7 separate regions of the Homo sapiens genome follow, and all the other regions are linked to region 1. Evidence: promoter capture Hi-C in 16 types of primary human blood cells and fetal thymus (Javierre and others, 2016). All regions are on one chromosome and are shown on one strand. The core of a region is centred on a gene start or on the middle of the fragment in contact, and the rest is flanking DNA. Distances in the headings are between cores, read along the strand shown. Region 1 holds the start of HSPB2 (heat shock protein family B (small) member 2). Region 2 overlaps LINC02762 (long intergenic non-protein coding RNA 2762). Region 3 overlaps HOATZ (HOATZ cilia and flagella associated protein). Region 4 overlaps LINC02762 (long intergenic non-protein coding RNA 2762). Region 5 overlaps LAYN (layilin). Region 6 has its middle 20 kb from the start of SIK2. Region 7 overlaps PTS (6-pyruvoyltetrahydropterin synthase).

Region 1 (3,842 bases), core at 1,343-3,842:
CAGCAATCTTTTAACCAAAAGTCGAATTCCTCAAGTGAGTTCTGTTATCCTGGAGGTCCACAGATCCCTAAGGGGGGTATGTGAATGGGTCTTAAGAGTTGTGGGAACCTATTCAAATTGTATTGCCAAATTTGGGAGCATATGTATTTTTCTGGTAAGAGCAGCTATAGCTTTTGTCAGATTTTCAGAAGGGTCTATAACTCCCAAAAGTTAAGAAACAACCACTTAATTTAATTCAATTCAATTTAATTTTTTTGAGGCAGGGTCTCACTCTGTCACCCAGGCTGGAGTGCAGTGGCGCAATCTCAGCTCACTGCAGCTTCAACCTCCCTAGCTCATCCTCCCACCTCAGCCTCCCAAGTAGCTGGGACTACAGGCATGCACCACCATGCCTGGCTAATTTTTATTTTTTTGTAGAGACAAGGTTGCACTCTATTGCCCAGGCTGGTCTCTTACTCTTGGGCTCAAGTGATCCTCCTGCCTCGGCCTCCCAAAGTACTGGGATTACAGGTGTGAGCTGCTGCACCCAGCCAAGAAACAACTGCTTTAATGGAAGAATTGTAGGTATCTACCACAGCCTAATGAAATATGTATTTGGAGGCAGGAAGGTCTTTTGGACACTTCCCCCAAATCATGTAGCTGGATGTTCTCTTGATTGCAGAGAATAACTGAGGGGACAGACCTCAGGCTTTCCTGAATACACCGTACCCCCAGAGGATGGGAAGGTAATGGGGTTCCGTGATAATTGGAGAGGCTTTGTGTCTGTGCCCTGTGTATGCATACTCAGGCTCTCAAAATCAGTGACCATTTAAGTGGACAGACCTTAGTACATGAAAACAAAGTATTCACTCCAGGACTTTAGGCAACTCTCACCAGCCAAAAACCATTTTCCCAGCCCCTACCCAAAAAGGGCCAGACAGTCTGGAGACCCTTGTTTTTGTGTCTCTAATCACCAGCTCAGACAGTGCCCTCTGGGCTGTTTGGATGGCATATCCCTTTTCCCTCCCAGGATCACTCTCTCTTTTGTTGCATTGTGAGAAAATTATGGCTAGGAATTTGATCTGGAGCCAGAGTCAGCTTCCGGGTGTGATCTCAGCATCCAAGTGCGAGCTCAGGGTCCTATGACGTTGGGCACATCAAACTGAGGAGCTTTTTGTCTAGCTGGCTGTGACCTCCTCCCTCCCTCCCCATCCCAGCTTCCCGGCCACAGAATAGGGAGCAGTACAAACAAGGCCCTGAGATTTGGGTTTATTCAGCTCCACCCAAAACTAAACCAAGGCTATGACATGTCCCATGGGACCAAACCATACATTGTGGACCATGCACCTTTCCCTTCCCCCAAGGATGCTGCTACCTCTGGAGTGGTGGGCAGCTGCCCATATCACCTTGGGAGGTAGAGAGGGATTTGCTGGGTGCTGGGTCTGTGGCAATCAGGGCTCAACTATGGCTGCCTCCTCCTCTTCCTCTGGATCAGGAGGCGCAGGGAGCAGGGAGATGTAGACCTCATTGACCTCTGTGTCCAAATGTCGGCCACCCCGAGGTGCTTCCAGGTTTAAGATGCCATCATGGGAGAGAGCAGCTCGGACTCGCCAGGGGTCGACATCAGCAGGCAGGACATAGGTGCGGCAGAACTCTCGGGACACGAAGCCGTGGCGGTCCAGGCGCTGGGGGTGCCGGGCAGACACCTCCAGCAGGTTATCCACAGTCCTCACAGTCACCTCGTCTGGGGTAAAGTGGCTCACATCCAGAAATGCCTGGAACTTGCCCTCACTGAGCCTAAGCTCGGAGGCCCCTGCCCTGCTGCCCTCCCCAGCTGGGGCGGCCCGAGGCCGGACATAGTAGCCATGGTAGAGTGTGGGGGTCAGGATCTCTTCTGGCAGGAGGCCTAAAGGGCAGAGAGAAGGCAAGAGGCAGGATGAGGGAGGATGAGGCTGGCACAGGGGCGAAATGGGAAATCTGGAGAGGAGGGATTGGGAAGAGCAAGAGGGGAGTCAGGAGGAGTAGGGAACGGGAGGGAGGCCACACTGTAGCTAGGAGGAGAAGGCAGCTCGGAAGAGGGGAAAGAGAACGGAAAGGAAAGGGAGGAGGAGGAGGAGAAGGAGGAGGAGGGGGAGGAGGAGGAGGCACCAAACGGCCTGGGTGGATAGAAGGGGGACAAGGAGGCACACCCAGGCCGGCAAAGAGCAGGTATCAGCACTGCAAGCACCAAGTGTGTCTTGAGGTCAGCAGGAATGGGAAAGATCTCTGCTTGGAGGGGATGAGGGGTAGTCTGGGGTGGGGGGTGGCTGGTCCCAGGAGATCAGTTAAGCCCAGAGTGGGGTGGAGGCCAGCAACGTTGGGAGGTCAGCCCAGAATTTCAGGGGGTGGGGGTGGGGGGCAAGGGGGTGGTGTCTGTGCCATACCTTCTCCGAAGCGCTGCTCACCCAGGCGGCTCGGGTTGGCAAATTCGTACTCGGCGGTGGCCGGGTGGGCATGTGGCACTGAGCGGCCCGACATGGCTGCAGATGCAGCAGAAGCCCTGGTCCGAGGTGCAGCCCCAACAGGCGCAGCGCGACCCCTCCAGCTGCCCGGAGAGCCAGGGCTCGATAGGAGGTGGGGGCGGGGTCGACACCACCCAAAATAGTGCCGAGCCTCTTGGGGGGGGAGGGGCTGGGAGTGGGGGCCCTGAGTGAGAGCAACGAGGGTGTGACCAGCGCCGCCCGGACCCCTAGTCCCCTCCCCCGCACACTCTTCAGCTGTCGCAGGGGGCCTGAGAGGACAGCTGAGGGTCCTGGCTGGGAACGAGCTGGGGAGGGGGAGCTGGTGGTGCCTGGGGCATGAAGAGGCCTCGCTGAGACCCTCACAAACGGTTTGCACGTTTCCACACCTCATTTTCTCCTCTTCGGTGGCAGGCACTGTGCACCCAATTCCTAAAGCACTCCTGGATTTAATGTTCTGAGAGCCACATAGAACGAAAGATGCAAGAAATCTGTTTGCTCTTTTTTCAGGGGGTGGGGTCTTTCTGCCCAGATGTGGGATCCTCTCCTAAACCCAGGTCAACCCAGGGCACGAGGCAGATGGCTGGTGCTGACATGTTGACCATCACTGCTCTCTTCCAAGGACTCACAAAGAGTTAATGTCCCTGGGGCTCAGCCTAGGAAGATTCCAGTCCCTGCCCAGGCCCAAGATAGTTGCTGGCCTGATTCCCCTGGCATTCAGGACTGGAAAGGAGGAGGAGGGGCACACTACGCCGGCTCCCATCCTCCCCCCACCCCGCGTGCCTGCTTGGGATTCCTGACTCTGTACCAGCTTCAGAGAACAGGGGTGGGGGTGGGTGCCATTGGGTGTGGACAGAAAGCTAGTGAAACAAGACCATGACAAGTCACTGGCCGGCTCAGACGTGTTTGTGTCTCTCTTTTCTTAGCTCAGTGAGTACTGGGTATGTGTCACATTGCCAAATCCCGGATCACAAGTCTCCATGAACTGCTGGTGAGCTAGGATAATAAAACCCCTGACATCACCATTCCAGAAGCTTCACAAGACTGCATATATAAGGGGCTGGCTGTAGCTGCAGCTGAAGGAGCTGACCAGCCAGCTGACCCCTCACACTCACCTAGCCACCATGGACATCGCCATCCACCACCCCTGGATCCGCCGCCCCTTCTTTCCTTTCCACTCCCCCAGCCGCCTCTTTGACCAGTTCTTCGGAGAGCACCTGTTGGAGTCTGATCTTTTCCCGACGTCTACTTCCCTGAGTCCCTTCTACCTTCGGCCACCCTCCTTCCTGCGGGCACCCAGCTGGTTTGACACTGGACTCTCAGAGGTGAGTCTCCCCACAGCTAGGACGGGAGAGTCCTTACTGG
Region 2 (3,842 bases), core at 908-3,407, 390 kb before region 1:
AAGTTTAGATGTAAGCCTGGTTCTGTCATTCTTTGGCTGTATGGCCTTGGGCAATATACTTAACCTCTCTTGACTCAGTTTCCTTAATTTAGTTAGCATTAATCATTGTGCCTATCTCATGGGATGGTTGTGAGTATTAAATGAGATAAAATATGTAAATCACTTAGAACAGTGCCTAGGCCATGGTAGGTACTCAATAAATGTTACCCATTGTTATAACTATTTAAAAACAGATGTCAGAGAAAAACATAATTCCCCTACCAAAAAAAGAATTTTTATAAATGCCCTTTCATTCACATCTATTTTTGTTTGATATTTCTACACCCTAAGCTGTAGGACTGCAAGAAAAAGAGAGTTTTTGGGACAGAAAAAGCCATGTGGGAAACCCAGAAACAGATCTCATCTCACCTGTCCCTATCAGCCTCTTCTGCCCGCCACACGTTGCCCTGTGCAGCCTGGGGTCCCATAGCACCAACTCAAGGTGAGGCACTGGGGGCAGCCTCTCGTGCACTGCCCTCTGACCATCAACACACACCCATTCTCACAGATCCTCAAACAGCATTGGCCACACAATTTGGAGGGCTTAGTGCAAAATGAAAATGTAGGGGCCCCTTGTTCAAAAGGTATTCAGACTTTCAAAACAGCAATAGCAGAACATCAAACCAAGCTGAGGGCCCTTCTAAGCACAGGGCCTTGATCAACCTCACAGGTCACCTATGAAGCTGTCCCTGTCCTCAAACTTCTCCAGAGGGGGCCCAAACAGCTGGGAGAGTCAGAAACAAGTGAGACGCACCATCTCCCACCTTGGCTTCTCCATCCAGGCAAAACCTGACGTGGAAAACCCTTTCCTACAGTACCTCAGTATTTTGATTAAAAACCATGATAAACTTGTGGGTGCAACAAAAGAAGAAATTGATGTTTTAATACAACTCATTACAGCACCTTTATTAACTCCAGAAATAGAAAGAGAATATAAAATAGAAAGATTAGTTTAAAATCAACACTGCGCTGGTAAGGGCAGCCACGATTCCAGCAACATTAATTGCTGGATAGCCTCATTACTGATTAAATAAGAAATCTCAAATACCATTAGACAATTGTGATTAAATGTATGTCATTCTAATTGAATGTGTGGCTTATTGCCTTCCACTGAATCAGCAGGTCACCTTCCTGTTTTGTATATTTGAAAGGGCACAGCTATGCAGTGACAGCACAGAGCCATTATTTCTCAGAGAGCCCTGAAACCCTCGCAGTTGTATCCTAAAATATGGCTGTATGTGCAGGTGGTGAAGGAGTATGCCATACAATAGGGAACCTGAGATGATGAAAATAAATCCCACTTAATGTCACAGCTGGGCACTTTTTCCTCTGATCTCATTACCCAGCTCTGGAGTCACTTGCAGTCCCCCTGACTTTGCAGTCATTTGAGGACTAGGGGGAGTTGGGCATCTTCTTGGTGCAGAGAGGAAGCTCCAGATCCAGCTCAGCAACTGGATCTGGCTGAGATGGTGGGGAAATGAAAAATCTCTGGTCTCATCTCTCCCTCACTTCTGCTAAGGAGCCGGGACAGAAGAGTCTTCTAAGGTCCATCCTTTTTGGTTTCCCAAGGATGAAAATACAAAATTAACGTTGTCACTGCTCTGACTGGTCTTTGCTGCTCACCTATCCCTTGGGACATGGGCTATCATCTCTCCACCCTGCTCTCGGCTTTGCCTGGAATAAAAGCCAAGGTGAAGCGGGACAAGCACCTTGCTGCAGGCCCGCGGGCTGTGTAGTCCCACACAGCACATCACTCCAGAAGGGACCAGGACAACACCAATCCCAGGGCCCACCCTGGAGGAAATCATACAGTAGGTTAGGTCATTCTCAGTTGAGTTTTGTTACATGGCCGTGCACATACGTGAGCGTGCACACACGCACGTGCACACACACACACACATGCACTCAGAGTTACCCCAATCTGCCTAAGCTCCAGATCTGGTCACATCAGTGCCCTGCTTCGGGTAAATGCTGGGTTTTTTCCCACCAGCTGGGCCTTCAAGGCCTCCACCAGCTTCCCCAACCACCCTCTCCCCTTGATCCCCCAGTGACAGCCTATACCCCTGCGCAAGGACTCCCAACAGACCCAGCACAGGGACGCACACGCTGCCTGCTCTGTCTGGAATGCTCTTGTTACAGTTACTGGGAAATTACTTCATATCTTGTTTCTCCAGAGTCCCTGGAAAGGAATGTTTCCCGCTCATAAGAATTAAGAACTGTTCCTAAGGTCTAGGCTCCCCAGTCACCAGAGGGTGGTCAATACGGTTCTATATTTCAGTTCAAATGAGGAGAAAGGAGGGTGGGCTCCAGGGCAGCCTGTCGGTGAGGGCTCAGATTATACAGGCTGCTGGCTGCATGGGGCTGAGTGAAATGAAGTCACCAAGCCTTGGGAGCTACAGAGAGGTGTGGTGAGACTGGTGCCACCCCCAAAGCTGTCCAAGAGACCAGGCTGGTCTGGACATGGCTGTGAGGCAAGATGGGTTCAGGAGGTGCCACAGTGCTAGACAGATGGTGGAAGAGCAGCTTTCAAGAGCAGTCTCAGATCCCTGCAGAGTGGAACCCACAGACTGAGACCCACATCTGTTATGGGGTTCCTGGAAAACCTTGTCAGGGGGGTGCCCCAAGTAATGACTGGTTTTTAGACTTCTCACCAACCTTGACTAACAAGAACTCAGAGCTCAACTGACTTGATTAAATATCTATACTTGACTGGGCACGGTGGCTCATGCCTGTAATTCCAGCAGTTTGGGAGGCTGAGATGGGCAGATCACCTGAGGTCAGGAGTTTGAGACCAGCCTGGCCAATGTGGCAAAACCCCATCTCTACTAAAAATACAAAAAATTAACTGGGCGTGGTGGCAGGCAGCTGTAATCCCAACTACTTGGGAGGCTGAGGCAGGGAGAATTGCTTAAACCAGGAGGCGGAGGTTGCAGTGAGCCGAGATCACGCCACTGCACTCCAACCTGGGTGACAGAGCAAGACTCCATCTCAAAAAAATAAAAATAAAAAATCTATACTTAAGCATCTTGGAGCAGCCATACCAAGTACAACTTTCCCCTTCTTCCCACAGGATGGGCTCCTCACCTCTTCCAGGAAGTCCTCCACACTGCTCCCGCAGCCACTCATGTCCATGCTGCTAGTAGAACACCGACCACGTGGCTCTGGCAAGTAGGGTATGTACAAGGCTCTCCCAGGCTACATTAAGCCCATCCTTGGTCCCCAGTACCTAGCAGCCTGCCCAGCACATAACACATGCTCAGGAAATATTGAAGGCAGGAAAAACAAAGAAGGGAGGGAAGGAAACTTCAGCTGCCCAGGCCCCCACCAAGCTACCTCCTACACATCACCAGACCCAGAACTCCCTCAACCACCCCAACACCTCCACCAGGCCCTGCCCCATATGCCTGTAACACTTGGGGTACCCACTACCATGCTTGACCCACTTCAAGGCAGTAAAGCACGCCAGTCATAAGCCTGACGTCTGGAGCCAGCTCATCTGGGTTCAAATCTCAGCTCTGCCACTTATCAGCTGTATGACCTTAGGTAAATTATTTAACCTCTCTGTGCCTCATCTGCAGCAAACTATATAAAACAGCACCTGCTTCTTAGGGTGATCATGAGCGTCAAATGAGTAGAGCGATTTTGAAAGGATACATGGTACTTAGGGAATGTTATCTTATTATTGCATTATGATTATCTACTTAAAAACTCATCCCCCCACTAAACCAGGAGTGCCCCAAGGGTAAGAATCATGTCTAGGTTTTTTTTTTTTTAATATATCCAGAACTTAGCACAACCCCTAG
Region 3 (3,842 bases), core at 326-2,825, 370 kb after region 1:
AGCCAAGTTCGCCAGCTGTGCGGGTGCACCTGGAGAGAGAGGCGATGCGTGGACTCCTACCTGGGGCTCAGCAGGCCGCAGTCCCAGCACGAAGGGCGACGCCTGAGCAGGGAATGGTCGATGCAGAGAACAAACACTCACGCAGGCAGTGTGCCCACCGGCCAGGAAAGTTATGGGACACCGCGCGGATGGCATCCAAAGAACTTGGCTGAGTTGGAGCCCTCCCGACTGAAAGGAAAGCGGCTTCTACCAGAAGCCAAAAGATGTCCCAGATCCCTGGAAGGAAATGATTCTGTTTTTTGCAGGGAACAGGTTGGGAGGTGGGGGTCATAGTTAGGGAGTTCAGCTTTGGCCCCTCGCCCCGCAGGAAAGAATGAAACTATTATCTCAGGAAAAGCTTTCCTAACCTAGCCCTCAATGTGTGCTTCCTCTTGTAAACTCCCAAAGTAGGTGTGTTTCACTTTGGTTTCGTAAACAAAATGCTTTTAAATATAGTCAAGCAATAGAGTGAGCCATCTGTCCAAAGATTAAGGCACTAAGTAGCAGAAGGTGAATCTGACTTTCTGCCTTTTCTGCCACACCATGCTGCTGTGAAGCATAGCAGAAGCCCCATCTGGGCCACGACCTCTGGATTTTGGTTCCAGCTTGCTGCTTCTTACGTACTCTTTCTGCTTTTCAAAACAGCCAAGAAAGCAGTGATGCTTCTAAGGCCTCTAGCCACTGCAATTCTAAACAAACAGCCTGAATACAGGCTGGGGGTGAGAGGGGAGTGGGATGAATTTCAGTATCAGCTGAGACTATGGGGGAGCTCTGCTGCGGCACGTAACAGCTAACAGCGGTTGTGGCAGGATGAGGCCTGACCTTTATGGCAAGATCATTTATAGACCTTCCTTCTGTCCCAGTTAGAATACGTCAATGTCACATCTAACACACTTTCTTCTTAGAAATTCTTGGTTATCAAAACAACTTGAGAGAACTGTTATGGTGAAAAGAAGCACTGGAGTTGGCATTTGAGGGTCTGTTTCAGATTCTGCTCTTCATTTAATGTCTGTGTGGCCTTTGGCAATTCCGTTTGCCTAAGTTTCACTTAACTGTTGGTAACATTAACAGTTGCCTTAAGAGTTTAGTGAGTGTTTGATAAGGCAAATATATATGTAAATGTTCAGATATCTAGGCACTTAATGTCAATTGAAAAGGATTTATTTCTAATATTATAACATCTGCTACAACTTTAAAAAGCTGTTACATAATTAAATCGTGTCCCGACTTCTCGCTTTGATACCCTGGACCTTGGTTCAGATGGATTTTGTTAGGGTATACAGTCAACCAAACCTGGTAGATTACAATAACGGCCCCAATTCTCCACACCTCCCTGTACCCATATCCTTTACCATATGACTTTGTAGTTTCTCTTTCTAAAGAGGCAGAGTATATTTCCCCACACCTTGACTTTGTGTTTGACCATGTGATTGACTTGTTTGGCTAACAGAATGAGTCAGTTCTGAGCTTAGACCAGAAAGGCCTCATATTTCTTTTTCTTCTCTGCCACTCTCTGAGAGGAACATACCTTAGATATCCCACTGGTCTATGTGTATCCCTAAGAGGATGACAAATGGAGCAGAGCTACCTCAGGCAATTGACAAACTTGCAGTAAGAGACAGAGCTGCTCTAGGTGCTGTAGCTTGAAGCAGAGCTCTCTGGCTAAGCCTAGGTCAGCCAAACTAGATCACACAAAACTGCAGATGTGTGAGCAGTAATAAATGTTGTTTTAGACCCCTTTGTTATGCAGCATTGTTGCAGCAATAGCTAACCATTACACTTGGCAATGTAGGGAGGTATCACTAGGGGAAGGCTGGTTGCCAAGAAAGTCCACAAAGTAGAATTTTTCTTGGTAAAATTACCCTGGTCCAGGGTCCAATTCCTAGTTTAACATGCTCAAACCCAATCTAAGAGACTAATATATTTACACATTGAGAAATAGAATTGTCAGGTAAACTAATGCTTGCATTGGCCTGTTGAACACATATTCTCCCTCTGGGCAAAAAAGATTTATCAGCATGGAATCAGAATGAAAGGAATTAGTTATATGATTTAATAGTTTAGGCTTTGATAGCCTGCTGTGTCCATCTTCACAACGAAGACCTACCTGCCAGGCAGACAGATACATCAACCAGACAGGATACCTTTTATTCTTGCTGGTGCTAGGATGGGGCTGCCAATTTATAACTTTCAAAATTTTCCTTTCCTAGGCCTGACTACCTTCCTTTTGTTCCGAACATTTTTCTTCAAATAGCGTTGTGCCAGAACCTTGTCATTGTCCCCTAATATCCATTCTCCACTTCTTTTGGCTATAGAATCCCTGAATTTTAATTAGACAGAAGCCCCCTCCCCATTTTCTAAAGACAATTTCCAGCCTCCCTTGCAGCCTGATGTGTCCTTGTGATTACGCTCTGACCAGTGGGCCACCCAGTCTTCTGTTGGCACAGTGGATGGGGGCTGTGTCTTATGAAAGCTATGTCCAAGAGTTCCAAGTGGAGGCCAGTAGTGATGGAAATGGTGGTCCTAAATAGAGCTGCAACCTCTGGGTAACCCTCTTACCCTAAATACATGTTGCTTACCCAAGAGTCAGACTCCTGAGATTTCATCATTGGTAACTGATTTCCTTGGATTACCCATTGTTCCCTTTATTCAGCCTTCTTTTAAAATGCAAATATTCCTGGGTGGATAATAAACATATTGCTACTAAAGCTTTACTATAAACACACTTTCCAGTTCTTTCTTTCTGACAGAAGGGGGCCTGGATTATGCTAAGATCTCTCGAAGGAGGGATGGGGAAGAGCATCTAACCCTGAGTAGGACTGCCATTTGGACAGCGCAGAAGGGACAAATCCTTAATCTTTTCTTTTCCATTACATAGCAAAGGGAATGAAAGTGAGGGGGGTTGGCACTGGGTTTATGTATGTGTGTAAAACATAGGCACGTGGAGCCAGTTATTCACAGAGGTAGAAGCAACTCACTTCTGACTTCAGACATGTTTCAGAAATGGAACAAACCAAATTTTGCTAAGTGGTTTTCTTATTAAAGCAAGTAGACTTGAAGTTTTCAAAACTGCCCTTTCATTCCTATTTCCTGATTGTTTTTACTGGTGGTCTACAAGTTAAGACACATAAAGCCCCTGTTTCTTGCTTACCTGATATTCATAATATAGATCTAGCATAGAAATTCTGGAAATACCCTTCAAATGAAAACAAGATAAATAGGAGTTTGAGAATGTGGTAAGATGAAAGAGATGTATGTTGTGGTGTCAAACAGTAGTACCCAGTAAGTAAATAGACACAAATATTCAATAGCTGGTAGAATTCATAGAAGCCTGCATATTTAACCTTTATTTCTTTATTTTAACACAAGTACTCACTAACTGGTAAAATTCCTGGAAGTCTGCGTATTTAACTTGTATTTCTTTGTCTACTATAATGTTGCCAGTGATCTCAATGATCCTGATCTAAGAGAAGGTTGTTTCCAAAGTGAAGGTATAAGTGAGCCATCCTCTGCCATGTGTCAAGCAAATTAGTCCAAAGTTTTGACTTCTTCTTGGTCCTCTTTATCTGACTCTGATACCACTTTCCTGTTGGTAGTAATATCAGTCAGTTCCAATACACAGAACTCCGCCATTGTGAACATGATGTAGCATGAAAACAACTTTTGAAAATTCTCCCAATAAAAATTCACTGTTGTAGATTCTATGTGTTGGGTTTTGCAACCAAGTATAAACTTGTATGTGAGAGAAGTGGTTATGATATTGTGAAGTGTGGTTTGGAGGTACAGGAGCCCTCCTACCCCAA
Region 4 (3,842 bases), core at 497-2,996, 370 kb before region 1:
CTGGGCAACAGAGTGAGACACCATCTCAAGGAAAAAAAAAAAAAACTGTAGGGCAATCTAATATTGAGTCTTCAAGCTATCCTGCACTACTTAGTAGTTTGCATGGAGCCCAACAAAAGTTGAGTGTTGCCTTTGGCCTTTAAAATATCTCAAAGAGCCCCTCTGAATCCACAGCAGCTCCAAGAACACCTCAGCACAGAGTTTGGGAACATGCATGGAACTCACTCCTGCTCCTCTCCTCATCCCACACTCCCCAGGGTTCACAGTGCTCCTCCTGCAAGCATCTTCTTTCTTGCCAAATGCTTTCCCACCTCAGCACTTTGTGCCCTTGCTCTTCTCTCTGCCTGGAATGCTCTTCCTCAGGTCTCCGCAGGCCCAGCTCCTTCTTGGCCTCCAGGTCTTGGTTCAAAGACCACTGTGCTCCCTAAAGCCTCTTCAGGCCTCCCACCAAATCACTTCTATCCTATGGGCCTGTTTCCTTTTCTGTATAGCTTTTATCACTATCTGAAGTTATCCTGCTTAGTTTACTTACTTATTTTCAAGCTTCCCCACCAGAATGTGAACTTGATGAGAACAGAGACTTTTGTTCATTACTGTTTCCGCAGAACCCGCAACAATGGTTAGCAATAAGTAGACAATAAACAATTGTTCAATGAATGACTGCAGCCTCTACACTCAGCTCAGGGAGATAAAAGGTAAGAAGAATGTGCTTTACACGTGCTATCCCCTTGGATCTTCACAACACTCTTTGGAAATAGATACAAATAGACATGATTAACCCCATTTAATAGATGAGAAACTCACATTGAAAGAAGTTAAGTGTTCAAAGCTGCACAGCTGAAGTGGCAGAGCTAAGATTCAAGTTCATGTCTACTTGACTGCAAAGGCTGCTTTTCATAAAATCACATTAACATCATGTTGGATACCTTCGATACACACAATACATTTTTTTTTAAGACGGAGTTTCACCCTTGTCACCCAGGCTGAAGTGCAGTGGCACAACCTCGGCTCACTGCAACCTCCACCTCCTGGGTTCAAGCGATTCTCCTGCCTCAGCCTCCCAAGTGGCTGGGACTACAGGCATGAGCCACTACATTGGCTAATTTTTGTATTTTTAGTAGATACAGGGTTTCATCATGCTGGCCAGGCTAGTCTCAAACTCCTGACCTCAGGTAATCCACTGGCCTTGGCCTCCCAAAGTGCTGGGATTACAGGCATGAGCTACCGCACCCGGCCAACATTTATTTTTTTTAAAAAAAATGTTAACCACATTGCCTCCCATTATCCCATTATCCACCTAGAAAAGCTAATAATAACAATGGCAAAGTCAAGAAATGTAGCCAAGGGGCCAACAGAGCCCCAGAGTCCTTAGAGAAACTGGCCACATCGGCATTTCCCCACTCGAGGACTCAGCCCCTGCCTCCAGTAGAAAATAGCAGAGGTGCCCACCTGGGAAGGCCTTGCCTTTATTATTCCTCTGGCCATAGCTGGCCATACCAAGGAGACCTCTTGCAGACATATCTTCTGGCCTGGCCCATGTTACTCTGTAAACCTAATGACATGTGTAACTCTCGTTGCTGATTACAACTGCCGAGCTCCTGTTGATCATCATGACAGGTAAGAGGCAAACACACATGCAGCTGCAATCAAGGACATGATGAGCACCTACCCTGAGCTCTGGATGGCACTGGGTGCTCAGGTTGCCCACATTTTAGACAGTCGCTGATTGGAGCAAGAATTATTAGGCCACACTCATCTGCATCCCCCAGGAAATGCTGGGTTGCCTTGACCCCCTGGGAGGAGTTATGAAGGGTCCCCACAGGCTAGAGCTTGGGTGGCTGGACACTGAGTTGGAGACCCTCGTACAAAGAAAGGGAGATTAAAATTTGTTCTGTAGAGTCAAGGGACTTGTGCTTGTCAACTTCCCCTCTTCATATGGCTTTGTTTCCCCATGTTGCTTTTAAACAGGTGGTTCAGGCAGGAGAAGAAATCAGCTCTTCCCTCCTCACCCCTATACTCCCCTTGGCCTGGCCCAGCTATAACTTCTGCTTATTCAAGACTCAGTAGTGTTGGTGCTGCCTCCAGGAAGCCTGTCCTGGCCCCTGAGACCTCTCCTCTGTGCTCAGAATAACCCCCATACATCACTGGATCCTGGTACTCGCCCTGCTGCATTATAATTATCTAAGTGTGGGTCTGTCTCCCATCCGGGCTGTGAGCTGAACTGAGGTAGGAACTGTGACCCATTTACTGTCATGTCTCCAGCTAACACCATGCCTGGCACAGAGTAAGTGGAATAAATATCTGGGCTAATGGAGTTGCTGGATTACCAGACTACGTGTTCTGACAGGTAGCTGGGAAGATAGGATCATCATAGTTCTAGTCTCTGTGCTGCCGACATTCACAAGCTCTTGGAAGACCTTAGGAATCATCTAGCCCTGTGCACAGGTTCCCACATCCTGAGGTCCCTGCACCAGGAAGGGTGGTCTGCCAGAACTACAAAGGCCGAGGGAACAACTTCTCAGGAAAGCCTTGGCCACAGGCTACTCTCATTTCTGAAGGCTCTGAGCCTATCTCACTGACCATTTAGAACAAATTGTTCATGACTCAACTTCATTATCTTCTACCCCGTATAGGAGCCCCAGCCTCCTCGGCTCTGCATTAGGTCATTGTTATCGCTCCCTTGTGGGCTTGCCATGTCACCTCCACAAGCAGCAGCAAAAATCACTTGCCAGAAAAAATGTCAGAAAAGCAATTAACATGAGCCTGGGTAGCAAGAAAGAAGCAACACATAAGAACAAAGGAGATGGCTCCTCCCTGCAAAGTCTGTGATTGCCTACCAGGGAAGCCAGCTCTGGGAGACCTGGGGATTGGGCTTGAGCCATCAGCCTCTGCCCCTGGTGCTTTATTTCAGAAGCACCAGCATCCCTTTAATCATGCGCAGGAAGCTTGACTGCTGTGGGAGCCCAAAGGGACCACCTGAAGCCTGTGATGAGACGGGCTGCAGCGCAGGAGAAAGACAGAGTCTCTCCCACTGCCTACTGAGGAATGCAGCTGCTCTGCAGCTGAACTTGGAGAGGCAAGAAAGAGAACAGACATTTAGGAAATGAGAGGTGACCCAGTGTCTGAACACTGAAGGTCATGGGGAGATACAAGAGACAGAGAACAGGCTGAGCATGGTGGCTCACGCCTGTAATCCCAGCACTTTGGGAGGTGGGCAGATCACGAGGTCAAGAGATTGAGACCATCCTGGCCAACACAGTGAAACCCCGTCTCTACTAAATATACAAAAATTAGCTAGGCGTGGTGGCACATGCCTTTAATCCCAGCTACTTGGGAGGCTGAGCCAGGAGAATCCCTTGAACCCGGGAAGCAGAGCTTGCAGTGAACTGAGATCGCGCCACTGCACCCCAGCCTGGCGATAGAGCAAGACTCTGTCTCAAAAAAAAAGAGAGAACAAGGAGAGAGGGATAGACAAACAGACACAAACACAAAAGCAGAGACAAAAGTTGACAACTTTAAAAGAATTTTTAAACAGAAGGAGTTTTCACCATTAGTGAGTGAGGGGCCTCCCTGAGAGTGGGGGAGGATTATGAAATCATTACCAGAATGTTCTAGATCTCACCCCTGGAGACCACAAAGTCAGACCACGTTTACATTCAGTTCCCAAATTGTGATCATCTAAGCTCTCACCAGCTGTGGCAGCAGGTCCCGCAGCCTTCTCTGAGAGGCAGCATGGCCTCAGGGACTCAGGAGCCAGCCCTGAAGCGGAATTCCCTCTGCTGCAGCCCCCACCTCAGGCTGCCACTATGGCACCCACAAGCTCACCATCTGCAAGGCACGGC
Region 5 (3,842 bases), core at 857-3,356, 350 kb after region 1:
AGACACAGACTAACACTCTGTTTCCTGCTCTTTATTTGATTTTATTATTCTTTGAAAAAAACAGATATGAGAATTGCCGATGCACAGGCCAGCCTGTGCTACCATATGTGGGCTTTGAAAAGATTCTGGATTTTCTGTCTGTATGATAATATGTGCTGCTGTATAGAGCAAGGAAAACAGAGGTGGTTTTCCAAGCTCCACAGCCCATCTTTATCACTGCCAGGTAAAGCTCTGTCCCTTAAAAGTTAGATACAACCAACCAAGTGACATTTATTGAGACTCTACTATGTGCCAGACCTGGGCAAGGTACCTTCTCATAAGGTCGAGCTGGATGACTGGCTGGGATAAAGGATACAGCCAAAACGTGGGGGTCCAACAGGAGGTCGTGGGGACCACATGCTCATCCACAGGACCTGATCTAAGCTTGTTCATAGACCTTCTGTGTATTTTCCTTATAGAAAATAAGAGGATTTTGCTTATCATTTCTTTTCCATTGTTGTCAGTTTCAGTTTTTTATATGTCCTAATAACCATATATTTCATTTTCCACCCATCCAGACTCCTTACTCCTCCCCATTTGGTCTGGGGAGAACTCATAAATGTCATTGGTCACAAATCCACTCTCCACGCTCACCAGAGTCACAAACCCACTTTCTGATGGGTTCACAGCCATGTTGTCATAGTCACAAGACATGTCATCGGGAGTGGCTTCTCCCGAACACACTCGGAATGAAATATTCTTCAGGTCTGGCCGGGTCTCAGCTAAGTCAGCTTCGCTTTGTTTTCTTATGACATTGTAGACCTCTAGGTCCGGGCTGTTTCCCTGGTGAGGAGAGGGCCAGATGGTGTGTTGCTTCTTTGTGCTAGGGTCTGGCTGCTCCCGTTTTCTAGGAAGAAAGAAAACCAGGGCTGAGTGTTTTAGACCAGGTGATTGAGAATACCCTTGTGCTTCCTGTTGAGACGAGAGGAAGCAGCCCTGGGCAGTCACCCAGCTGCATGTCTCGTCTATGTAACTTACAGGCCAGGGCTTCGGAGTGGGAGGGAACCAAACAGGGAGATGTTATGTTCAAAGTGATTGTGTATCTGTCATTCACTGCTGCCCAAGTGTGGGCAGGGTTATTATCCTGGGGTTCCCTAGAGTCCCTGGAGTGTCCAGGGATAGAACTGAATAGAGAAAAAATACCACATTACAAAAAAAACCCAAAAAAACAAAAAAACACCTCAGCTGTGCACAGTGGCCCACGCCTGTAATCCTAACACTTTGGGAGGCTGAGGCAGGTGGATCACTTGAGCCCAGGAGTTTGAGACCAGCCTGGGCAACATGTTAAAACCCCGTCCCTATAAAAGATACAAAAATTAACCAGGCATGGTGGTGCACACCTGCAGTCCCAGCTAGTTGGGAGGCTGAGGTGGGAGGATAACCTGGGAGGTCAAGGCCGCAGTGAGCTGTGATGGTACCGCTGCACTCCAGCTTGGGCGACAGAGTGAGACCCTGTCTCAAAAATAAAATAAAATAAAATAAAATAATAAAATAAAATAAAATAAAACCAAAACAACAAAAAACACGACTCATCCATAAGTGAAATTTAGCATGTCCTTCCATTATGAATGTAAGAGATAAAACAGCAGGATTAATATCTTTGACTTGATCACTACTAGAAATTATAGATGTTTTCATATCACAGTTATAGATGCCTTGAAATATTTTAACCTCATCTCTACTTCAAAATTATAATAATTATACCCAGCACTAAATAAAGAAGCATTAATAAAGGAGTACATGTATTACTAATCACATATTCATTTTTGGAAATATTTTGCTAAACTATATAACAGTATGATTGCTTCCTTTGCAACCCAATGTATTTTATTTTATGCATTTAAAATATTGTACTGGGCCGGGTGTGGTGGCTCATGCCTGTAATCCTAGCACTTAGGGCAGCTGAGGTGGGCGGATCACCTGAGGTCAGGAGTTCGAGACCAGCCTGGCCAACATGGTGAAACCCATCTCTACTAAAAATACAAAATTAGCCAGGCATGGTGGTATGTGCCTGTAATCCCGGCTACTTGGGAGGCTGAGGCACGAGAATCACTTGAACCCGGGAGGCGGAGGTTGCAGTGAGCCGAGATTGCGCCATTGCACTCCAGCCTGGGCGACAGAGAAAGACTCTGTCTCAAATATATATATATATATATATTTTTTTAAATAAAATAATAAATAAAATAAAATATTGTTCTGGAAGGAGTCCATAGGCCTCACCAGACTGCTGCAGGGCACAAAAAAGATTAAAAACCCTTGGGATAGACAGACACCCCAGCTTTAGAGTCACAATTCCCAAATCCTGTTAAAGTACAAAACAGAGAGTCAGGAAAGGAAATCAAGAACCAACTGAGTAGGCAGAGTAGGCAGCTGGAAAATATGCCTGTAATTTTTTGAACTAAATTCTACTTTAAGATTCAAAGGAAATAACTAATAAAATAATCCCAATAATAGGTAACATTCAAGTGCTTAGTATATACTTATTCTGCAAGTATTAACTGCCTTAATCCTTATAATAATCCTACAAGGAAGTTACAATTAACTGAAATAGATTTTACATTGGAATCTTACTAATTCATCTCAAATTGGTCTTTAAAGGGAGTCAAATCTTAAATTGGGCCTTAGTTTTCCTGTTGTAAATGGGAATACTAGACATCTTCTCCATATACCATGATGATGGAGAATAAAAAGGTAACTGAGAAGAGCTTTCAGTACTAAAAATAAAATAAAATAAAATAAAATAGTGGCACACGATCCTGACCATATACAGAAATTGTTGATGCCACCTAGTGTAGCTATTTTATAGCACTCTATACTTGTGTACTGAATTAAAAGAAAAGTCAGTTAAAAGGAATTTGGCTCTTTCAGTTTGAATTAAGTGGTTTAGTTTCAGATGTTTACCAGAATACTTTGCAGCAGTCATTTTTCATATGGCTCACTATTCATTCCTTCACTCAGTCCACAAACATTTTCAGAGTGAGGGCATACATTCATGAGAGCATTTTTGCTGGGTGACGTGTGAGTGCACGGGAGGTGAATAATGCAATTTCACCCTTCAAGTTGTTTTAAAATCTTCCACGTACAGACAGTAAAGCAAGTAAGATCACTCTCTTAATCACAACTAAGCACAAATGCCTAGTACTTCTGAATGCCCTGACCTGTCAGAGAACCCACTCTCCAATCTGCAATGGTGATACTCTTGGTGCTGCCGTGGGTTTTAATGAAGTAAACAAGGCAATATCCAAATCTCAAAGAGAGCAGAAGATGCAAAGGTTTACACAATGAAGGTTTTACTTGCCTTTTTCTACAGATCCAAACCCAACATACAACTGTGGTGACCACAAGGAGGAGGAGAAGGGGAATGCTGGGGATTAGGATGTAGGCCAGATTCAAGGCAGCTTCTGAAAAGAAAGAAAGCACATGATCAGCATTGGCTGTTTTTTGTTTTGTTTTTCTGTGCTTCAAACCAGGCTTAAAAAAAGCATAATCGTCAAAAACCACTTGTACCCCCAAATCTATTAAAATTAAAAAATTAAAAAACAAAACAAAGGAAAAGGCTAATCAACACAGAGTATTCCAAAGAGCTCATTCCTGAGTGATCAAGACACATCTAGCCAGTTAGCAAAGAGTCTTCTGGTTTCGATGGATGAGCATTTTCTACCTGTCCTATTACCCTAAGTGATAATGAAAATCAGTTTAAATTTTTAGGTCTTCCAAATATCAGAAGGGCACTTTTGTTAATTAAGCTTTTTGTTTTTTTTTTCAGAGAAAAGAGAGTCTCTCTTTTCTTGTCCTCCCTTAGT
Region 6 (3,842 bases), core at 495-2,994, 330 kb after region 1:
CAGACTGTCCTCAGACTGGGACAAGTGAAAACTGCCCGGGTTTAGAAGGCCCTGCATATCACAAACCACCCACAACACCCCCACCCACACACACATTATTAAAGAGCACATGACCCCTCTCTCAGTTTGGCATTCAGCACTGACACAGCATGGCCATAAGCCTAAATGTCCACTCTTACCACTAACACTGGTTAGGCCCCAGGAAACCATTCTCCATATCTCTTGCCTTATGTCCTCAAAACAGCAGGTGGCTGCATCTGAATGCCATAAAGACTTGCATGTTGGGCCTGGTGCGGTGGCTCATGCCTGCAATCCCAGCACTTTGGGAGGCTGAGGCAGTCAGATCACCTGAGGTCAGGAGTTCAAGACGAGCCTGGCCAACATGGTGAAACCCTGTCTCTACTAAAAATGGAAAAATTAGCTGGGCATGGCAGCATGTGCCTGTAATCCTAGCCACTCGGGAGGCTGAGGCAGGAGAATTGCTTGAACCCAGGAGGCGGAGGCTGCAGTGAGCCGAGATTGTGCCACTGCACTCCAGCCTTTTAAATAAATAAATATTAATAAACATTTATTATTAATAAATAATAATAAATAAATAAAAATAAAAGCTTGCAGTCTGTGGTATCCCCATTTTAAAATTACAAATTTTAATGTATATTTTGCCTTTTAATTTTAATAGATGGTTTTGAATATTTTAGAAAAGATAACTTTTTAACAATATATGAAAAACAATTTCATATTAAAATTTTTTGTATTTATATTATACTTTTGATAAAAATATAAAAATTTATACAGCTTGAATAGATGTATATTTTAATTTTAATCTTTTTTATCACTACTGTTGATAAAACACAAATTATTTGAAAATCTTGATTATTACAACTTAACTGGGCCAGGCATGGTGGCTCACATCTGTAATCCCAGCACTTTGGGAGGCTGAGTTGGGAGGATTGCTTGAGGCCAGGAATTCAAGACCAGCCTGGGTAACATAGCAAGACCCGATTTCTACAAAAAAATTTAAAAATAGCTGGGTGTAGTGGCACAAACCTGTGGTCCTAGCTACTCAGGAGGCTGAGGTGAGAGGATTGCTCGAGCCCAGGAGTTCAAGGCTACAGTGAGCTGTGATTGCACCACTGCACTCCAGCATGGGTGACAAAGTAAGACACTATCTCTTAAAAAAAAAAACCGAAACAACTAGTGATTTTGCTAAAATGAGAACAAAAAAAAAAATAGATGCTTCATAAGTAGATAGAATGCAGATTTCTTTTAAAAAGGCAAACTACTTTTAAGAGTATGAATTCTACCTCAGAGCAATAGAAATCTATTATATAAGTGATTTCTCAATCTGGGTTTCTTAAATGGGGTTATAAGAGGTATATCATGATTTGGGAGGGGAAGGGATTTCTCAAAGCCCTTGTTAAACATACTGCATGTTCTGGAATATCAATTGCCCTTTTAAACTTCTGTTTCTTTAAGAAAAACAGAGTAGGTTGTGGGACTTGAACGAATATTTAAGATAAACACAGGACTTTGGAAAAATTTTGCATTTCCCAATAATTTTGCTTTGGGTCACTTTCCCAGGGCTTTGAGTACACACCGGGGTGTGTGTGTGTGTGTGTGTGCGTGTGTGTGTGCATGTGTGTGTGTGTGTGTGTGTGTTGTGTAGCTTTCATTCTTCTCTGTCAGTACTTCAGTGGAAAAGTTTAGGAAGCACTGGAAGAAATAATAAACAACTTACTAGGACAAGAGTTCAGATTAGTATGCCTAGGAAAGAATTGAAAGAAGACAGTTCCTAATGGCCAGGCGCAGTGGCTCATACCTATTTGTAATCCCAGCACTTTGGGAGGTTGAGGTGGGCTTGATCCCAAGAGTTTGAAACCAGCCTGTGCAACATGGCAAAACCCCATCTCTACAAAAAAATGCATAAATTAGCAGGACGTGGTGATGCATGCCTGTAGTCCCAGCTACTTGGGAGACTGAGGGAGGAGGATCTTTTGAGCCCAGGAGGTTGAGGTTGAGGCTGCAGTGAGGTGTGATCACACCAGTCACTGCACTCCAGCCTGAGCAACAGAGCAAGACCCTGACTAAAAAAAAAAAAAAGAGGGTTACCTTCATTTGAAAAGGCATTACACCATGTTGCCAGCTTAATTGATTGTTTTTGTGTATGCTACTAATGAGACCAAATCAATCATTCTATCCCTGCATGGACTGGTTAATTGAGCTCTTTTTCTTTGCTAAGATGTCCCAACCTTGGCCAGCCTTGCTGGTGTGTAACTGCTTGGTCATTAGCAAGAGTGCAGGAGAGAATGTGGAAGGCACAGCACAATCTAACAGTGCTTTGGAAAAACAACCAAACAGATGTTTCCACTAACAGTGGATAAGAAGCACTTCCTTCCTACAGATCTGTGCTCAGTTCTCTGCATACAGATCTGAGTTCTCAGTTCCACCAAGGTATACTGTGAAAAAGGAGTGAGTTTCATCTCCTTTTCTGTCCCTCTTTGCTCTATTTTCTTCTGCAGCATGGGAGAGTTAATACTAGAGAGAAGAGTCAGAGTGCTGAGGCAGGAAAAAAGAAACAAATATGAGGGGTTAGTGTCCTGATGCTGGTCCTGGTTAGGGCACTAAGTAGCTATGGACCTTAGATTAAGTCTGCTGAACTTTTCTAGGCCTCCTTTTCCTCATTTGTAAAATCAGAGTTTTGGTTTAGATGATCTCTTAGGTTCCTTCTAATTCCAATATTCTGGATTATTTTGAACATTTTCCTGCAAAGTTTTCCTTTACTTTTGTAACCCCCTAATATGCAAACTTAATGACATTCAAAAATGGTTTACTGAGGTGGCTCTCAGGAAACTTCTTAGGGTCAACAAGTTCCAAGCTTCTCAAAATAGAAGGATTATACCTTCTAAATAGAAGGATTATGTCAGAGTCCTGATTTTGAATTAGAAATATTGATATAATGAATGATGTGTATTAAAAAGATAATTTCCTAGTTCTCTCCCCTGAATAGGCCTAGAAATAGAGATCAAACTGCAGGCAACAAGCACTCCTAGCTCCCAGACAGAGATCTCTATTTACTAGTTTTCTCTAAAAGTAATCAAGACATGTAGCGGATGCTGTGGTTTGCCACCCAGATTCTCCATTCAGAACTGAGGCCTGGGATGCTGGGAACAGTGGTGGCTGTTGGCTGTCCCTGAATCACTCTCTGGGCATTGTCTTAAACCAAGGTTTCTTAGTCTCAGCACTATTGACATTTTGGACTGGATAATTCTTTGTTGTTGGGGACTGTTCTGTGCATTAGAAGATGTTTAGTAGAATCCCTGGCTTCTACCCACTAGACACCAGTAGCACCCTACCCATGGCTGTGACAACCAAAAATGTCTCCAGGCATTGCCAAATGTCTCTGGGGGACAAAGTGCCTTGATTGAGAACCACTGCCCTAACATGAAGAGAGTCACCTCACCCAGGGTTATACCATTCTCCCCAGAGGCAGCCCATATCTAATGACTGGTTAATGTGGATTATAAAGGTCAGGCTCTCTTGCCTCAAAGCAGGACATCTTACAGGGCTAGACCATCTCCAGTGTTCTGTGTGGAATTGGCTGTGACTGTACTGTGGTTCCACTGCTTTCTCTGCCCAGTCCTACTTTTGCCCCTCCCCCATAGGTGTTAATTCTAAGGGCAGTCCCTTAAATGCATGTAAATATTCAACTCAGAGTCAATTTCCTGGAAGAACCCAACTTGAGACAGGTCTTCTTAGAGAAATGGCTGATTCCAGGTTTGAAGCAGAGGATATGCCAGATAAACTTGGAACATCTTGTGATACCAGAAAGCAAGGAAGCAAGC
Region 7 (3,842 bases), core at 940-3,439, 320 kb before region 1:
AAAAATTAAATTGAATAACAAATAAGTAAGATCAGACTCTCAAAAAATCTGGAAATATTCAAATTGTCCCTTTTCAGAGTCTGTGTTTTGGAGTCAGAAAGACCCTGAATGTTAAACATCCAGTTTGCAATTTATTTGCTGAATGATCTAAAGCAAATAGTTTAAACTCTCTCAACTTTAATTATCTTACCTAAAGAATGAGAATACCTACCTTGCAGGGTATTTGTGTGAATTAAAACATAAAGTGTCTTAATAAATAACAGCTATCTGCCTTTCAAGTAATCAATACAAAACATTCTACATAGAGAACAAATTGTTTGATAACTAAAATACATTCAAATATAATTCAGTGGCCATTTGCATTACTGTCAAACTTTATATTTCTGCAATCACTAGAAAAGACTATTCTTTGCAAGTTTTTCTAGAATAGTAATCACTGCAAAAGTCCTTTTACTATTTTCAGGCAACAACATTCTGGGAATTCATTGTATACTAGTTGCTATGTGGAGAGAAAATCAGAACCCTGCGTTTAAGACATTTAGAAAACAAACAAGAACACAGAACAGTCTTCCGTGCAAAGTAAGCAAATACTTTCTTGTGGATTTAGTCACGAGGAAAAGATCCCAGAGAAGAATGCCAAGCATATAGTAAGTTTAATAATCAGAACAAAATGGGATCAATTAGGAAAAACTATATACAGGAAATATTTTATATGGTAGTTGATCCTTTTTATGCTGACTATTTTTTAGAGTTTAAAATATGATTATTCTGCAGTCTTCTGAGTTGAAATTATTCAAGTGCCCATCAGGTTCAGAAATTCAGAGGAGTATACTGAATAATTTACTGATATTCCATGATATGTTTAATGTGTTGTTCCTCACTAGCAATTCATAGTTCAATACGCTGTGCAAAATTGTAATGAATGATGTGCTCTAAAGCAGCATTTCCATCAATATTTGTACGTGTATCCACAACAGATGCCTCACATGATTTGTGTGTCTAATTTTCACTGAATCCACTTATGCCTTCAGCACACCCAACAAGTAGTAATCAAGAGAGTTCAATCTATTAAATATACATATATATATTGTCTCCAGACTTTGTGGTCACTTGAATTTTATTTCTTTAAGATTCACCTACTCGAAGTCACATAAGCATTTTAACCATGTATATTATACCAAGTAAAAATTAATACTAAAATGAGGTAATGGAGAAAACAAAATTAGATTTCTTTTGCTTTCAAATAATCCCACACCAAAACATTTTGTGAAAATGAAGTGATTTTTAATTTATAAATAAAAGACTCTCTAAATGATTTTCAGGATGTATATTACAAGTTTAGTTTTAAATAGACTTAAATTTATAACAGGTCTTACAATGATTTCAATAAATAGGCACTCCAGAGCACAATGTGTACGTACAACAATCACGTGTTGACCTCTTAATATTCCAAGGGGATCAAAATCTTTTTCAAACACAGAAAGAAACTGGGCTTTGTGCAATGCTAACCCCAATAGCTATTCTCCTTTATAAACCACAATATTATTGTCAGTTTCGTATACTTTTACTTTATAAAGAACTCCTACAGGAAGAACTTTCTGGAGGTTGTCCCAGATATAAACAGCTACATTTTCAGTCGTGCTATAAGAAAAAAAAACAAAAACAAAAAAAATTCAAAATGCAAACAATAAAATTTCATGTTTAATATTTACAGAAAATAGAAATTCTAGTTTCGAAAGATTTCATTAAATTAAAACTTCAGAAATCACACAACAATCAAAGTATTCAAATCAATTCTTGTTTTACAATCCACATAAGGCAAGATACAGTGCCACCCACCTCACCACATCTGCAAAGTATGGCACATCCATATCCAGATTCTTATGATCAAGGGGCTGCATAATCGCCTCCTAGAGACAAAACCAAGGGAAAATATCATTGACTCCATTTACGACTCAAATTCCAAATTGTTCCACTTATGCCTCTAAACCTCACCTTATCACTTAGCCACTAACTAAATATTTGTAAGTACTAGATTTGAGTCTTACAAGGCAACTTTACAAAATTTCAAGTTGTAAAATAAAGTCAGGCCCAGCTGTCGGTAATGATTAGGAATCCTTGTTACTGAATAAAAAGAGGTGAGAAACCAAAAAGCAGAGAATTCCTGGAGCTTTCTCGCAACACAAGCCATTGTAATTCAGAATTCAGTTTAACACTTTGTGAATCCTGTCCAAACAGTTAGCACAAATATTTTTCCATAACACTGTCACACCTACGGAACAATGCCACAATATCATAAGGACAAAGATCCAGTGACTACTACATTTTATAAAGCAGACCTAGACTGAAATTATGTAAGTAGTTCTAAATTTTTGCTATGAGGAATAATTTAAGAATGATCTTGGGCTCATAGAAGGAAAAATATATATATGTAAAGACTATTACTCCCTAATGCTCGTGTATATTAACATAATGTTTTTCCTCATCATCAGCAAGGATTAAATTGCCTCATTCTTTCTAGGTTTTTGCTTTTAGCTATTGCAAAAAATCTAAGCATCTGTGAAAAAAAAATGTAATTTTCCATAGGACGTAGTTTGAAGAAGGGTACATTAATAACAGTAACAGCAATCATTTCTTGAGAAAAACTAGAATCATACAAAAAGAGTAAGTCCTAGATCAAACAGTTATTGAAATATATCCAATGAAGGGATGTTCCACATGAATAACAAGAAAACGGGCATCCTTGCTTCATCTTCAATCCCAGTTCCAGTCCCAATTTCTCCATTAAAGCCTCTTATGCAGGGCTTTTTGTTTTCTTTTGTTTTGTTTTTAGAGACAGGGTCTCTGTCATCCAGGCTGGAGTGCAAGTGGCATAATCATAGCTCACTGCAGCCTTGAACTCCTGGACTCAAGCAATCCTCCCCCCACGGTAGAGCTCTAACTTTACTCTACATGCCATGATAAGCCACTTTTACTGATGAAAGTGTGTGGTGTCCTTCAGGCATACAAAAGCAGAAAACAGCATAGAGAAGCCCTCCTCCAGTATTTAGTCATATGTTGAGGCCTTTTATGTTGCTGTCTTGTCTCTTTTCTTTCTTTTCTTTTCTTTTCTCTTTTTCTTTTTCTTTCTTTCCCCTCCCCTCTCCTCCCCTGTCCTCCCCTCCCCCTCCTCTTCTCCTGTCTCTGTCTCCCTCTCTCTCTCTCTCCGCCTGCCCCCCAACCCCTGCCCCATAAATGCATGCTGGCCCTATCTGTATAACTTTCCTAAAGTATTTTGAGCATAGTGCTGTTTCTTCATTCACTCATTCTTCTACTCATTTATTAAATCAACAGTTATTTAATAATATTCTTCACCTCCTAGAAAAAGTAATGTATACACTCTGTGGGCTACATCTCATTCATCTTTGTACACTTAGCTCAAAAACTGATGCGAAGTAGAGAAATTTGTTGAATATATGAATAAGTAATGTGAAAGAAGTAATCATTACTAATAACATCATTTTAATCAAGCAAATGTCAAATCTCAGAACAAACCTAAGCTGCAAGTGAAATGACAGCATAATAAAACAGCTGGAAGGAAAGAAATCTACTCCCAGCTTTGCAAATGACTAGCCATATGACCTGGGGCAAGTCAGTTAACTGTTCAGCATCTCTCAATCTTAATCTATGGGTTGAAGAAGTTGGTCTGAATAATCTCCAAAGTCTCTTACAGTGCAAGAATTCTATAATGACACAATCAGTTAAGTTCTTCATTGAACACCTTGTGTGTTATCTCTATGAGGTACTGCTCTGGTGAGTTTATAATAAAGCTAGAATGAACAACACAGTGTGGTGTCTAAATC

What was found. The method cuts DNA at HindIII sites, captures the fragments that hold promoters and counts their contacts. A CHiCAGO score of 5 or more calls a contact.
Region 2: a fragment that was not itself captured here is called in contact with the fragment with the promoter of HSPB2 in region 1 in 1 of 17 cell types (neutrophils); the score reaches 6.2 in neutrophils.
Region 3: a contact is called between a fragment that was not itself captured here and the fragment with the promoter of HSPB2 in region 1, in 2 of 17 cell types (naive CD4 T cells and total CD8 T cells). The highest score is 5.1, in naive CD4 T cells.
Region 4: a fragment that was not itself captured here is called in contact with the fragment with the promoter of HSPB2 in region 1 in 1 of 17 cell types (erythroblasts); the score reaches 5.4 in erythroblasts.
Region 5: a fragment that was not itself captured here is called in contact with the fragment with the promoter of HSPB2 in region 1 in 4 of 17 cell types (total CD8 T cells, naive CD4 T cells, naive CD8 T cells and 1 more); the score reaches 6.1 in total CD8 T cells.
Region 6: a contact is called between a fragment that was not itself captured here and the fragment with the promoter of HSPB2 in region 1, in 2 of 17 cell types (total CD8 T cells and erythroblasts). The highest score is 6.8, in total CD8 T cells.
Region 7: a fragment that was not itself captured here is called in contact with the fragment with the promoter of HSPB2 in region 1 in 1 of 17 cell types (neutrophils); the score reaches 5.0 in neutrophils.

The regions. Positions count from the first base shown.
Region 1 is chr11:111,911,484-111,915,325 of GRCh38, reverse strand. It overlaps HSPB2 (heat shock protein family B (small) member 2), which reads right to left and starts at 2,592. Exons shown (of 2, transcript NM_001541.4): 1 at 2,403-2,592; 2 at 1,233-1,885. The coding sequence starts at 2,496. The coding sequence ends at 1,431. It overlaps CRYAB (crystallin alpha B), which reads left to right and starts at 3,556. Exons shown (of 3, transcript NM_001289808.2): 1 at 3,556-3,802. The coding sequence starts at 3,602. HSPB2-C11orf52 (HSPB2-C11orf52 readthrough (NMD candidate)) reads right to left here and starts at 2,590. Exons shown (of 5, transcript NR_037651.1): 1 at 2,403-2,590. RefSeq lists an enhancer at 1,188-1,841. The HindIII fragment of the contact is 6,880 bases long and covers 1-3,513 here.
Region 2 is chr11:112,303,861-112,307,702 of GRCh38, reverse strand. The region is part of intron 2 of LINC02762 (long intergenic non-protein coding RNA 2762); the gene reads right to left. Among named protein-coding and RNA genes, the nearest start is that of LINC02762, 35 kb to the right of the region's middle. RefSeq lists an enhancer at 1-89. The HindIII fragment of the contact is 9,013 bases long and covers 1-3,842 here.
Region 3 is chr11:111,536,553-111,540,394 of GRCh38, reverse strand. HOATZ (HOATZ cilia and flagella associated protein) reads right to left here. Exons shown (of 6, transcript NM_001100388.2): 6 at 3,352-3,625. The coding sequence ends at 3,568. It also overlaps a transcript of LAYN not described here. Among named protein-coding and RNA genes, the nearest start is that of LAYN, 2.2 kb to the left of the region's middle. RefSeq lists an enhancer at 1-572. The HindIII fragment of the contact is 2,351 bases long and covers 400-2,750 here.
Region 4 is chr11:112,285,012-112,288,853 of GRCh38, reverse strand. The region is part of intron 1 of LINC02762 (long intergenic non-protein coding RNA 2762); the gene reads right to left. Among named protein-coding and RNA genes, the nearest start is that of LINC02762, 16 kb to the right of the region's middle. The HindIII fragment of the contact is 2,402 bases long and covers 546-2,947 here.
Region 5 is chr11:111,557,139-111,560,980 of GRCh38, reverse strand. It overlaps LAYN (layilin), which reads right to left. Exons shown (of 7, transcript NM_178834.5): 6 at 3,338-3,440; 7 at 1-886. The coding sequence ends at 523. Among named protein-coding and RNA genes, the nearest start is that of LAYN, 18 kb to the right of the region's middle. The HindIII fragment of the contact is 3,362 bases long and covers 426-3,787 here.
Region 6 is chr11:111,580,852-111,584,693 of GRCh38, reverse strand. No RefSeq gene overlaps it. Among named protein-coding and RNA genes, the nearest start is that of SIK2, 20 kb to the left of the region's middle. The HindIII fragment of the contact is 2,267 bases long and covers 611-2,877 here.
Region 7 is chr11:112,231,231-112,235,072 of GRCh38, reverse strand. PTS (6-pyruvoyltetrahydropterin synthase) reads right to left here. Exons shown (of 6, transcript NM_000317.3): 5 at 1,840-1,910; 6 at 1,100-1,641. The coding sequence ends at 1,518. Among named protein-coding and RNA genes, the nearest start is that of PTS, 6.7 kb to the right of the region's middle. The HindIII fragment of the contact is 7,627 bases long and covers 1-3,842 here.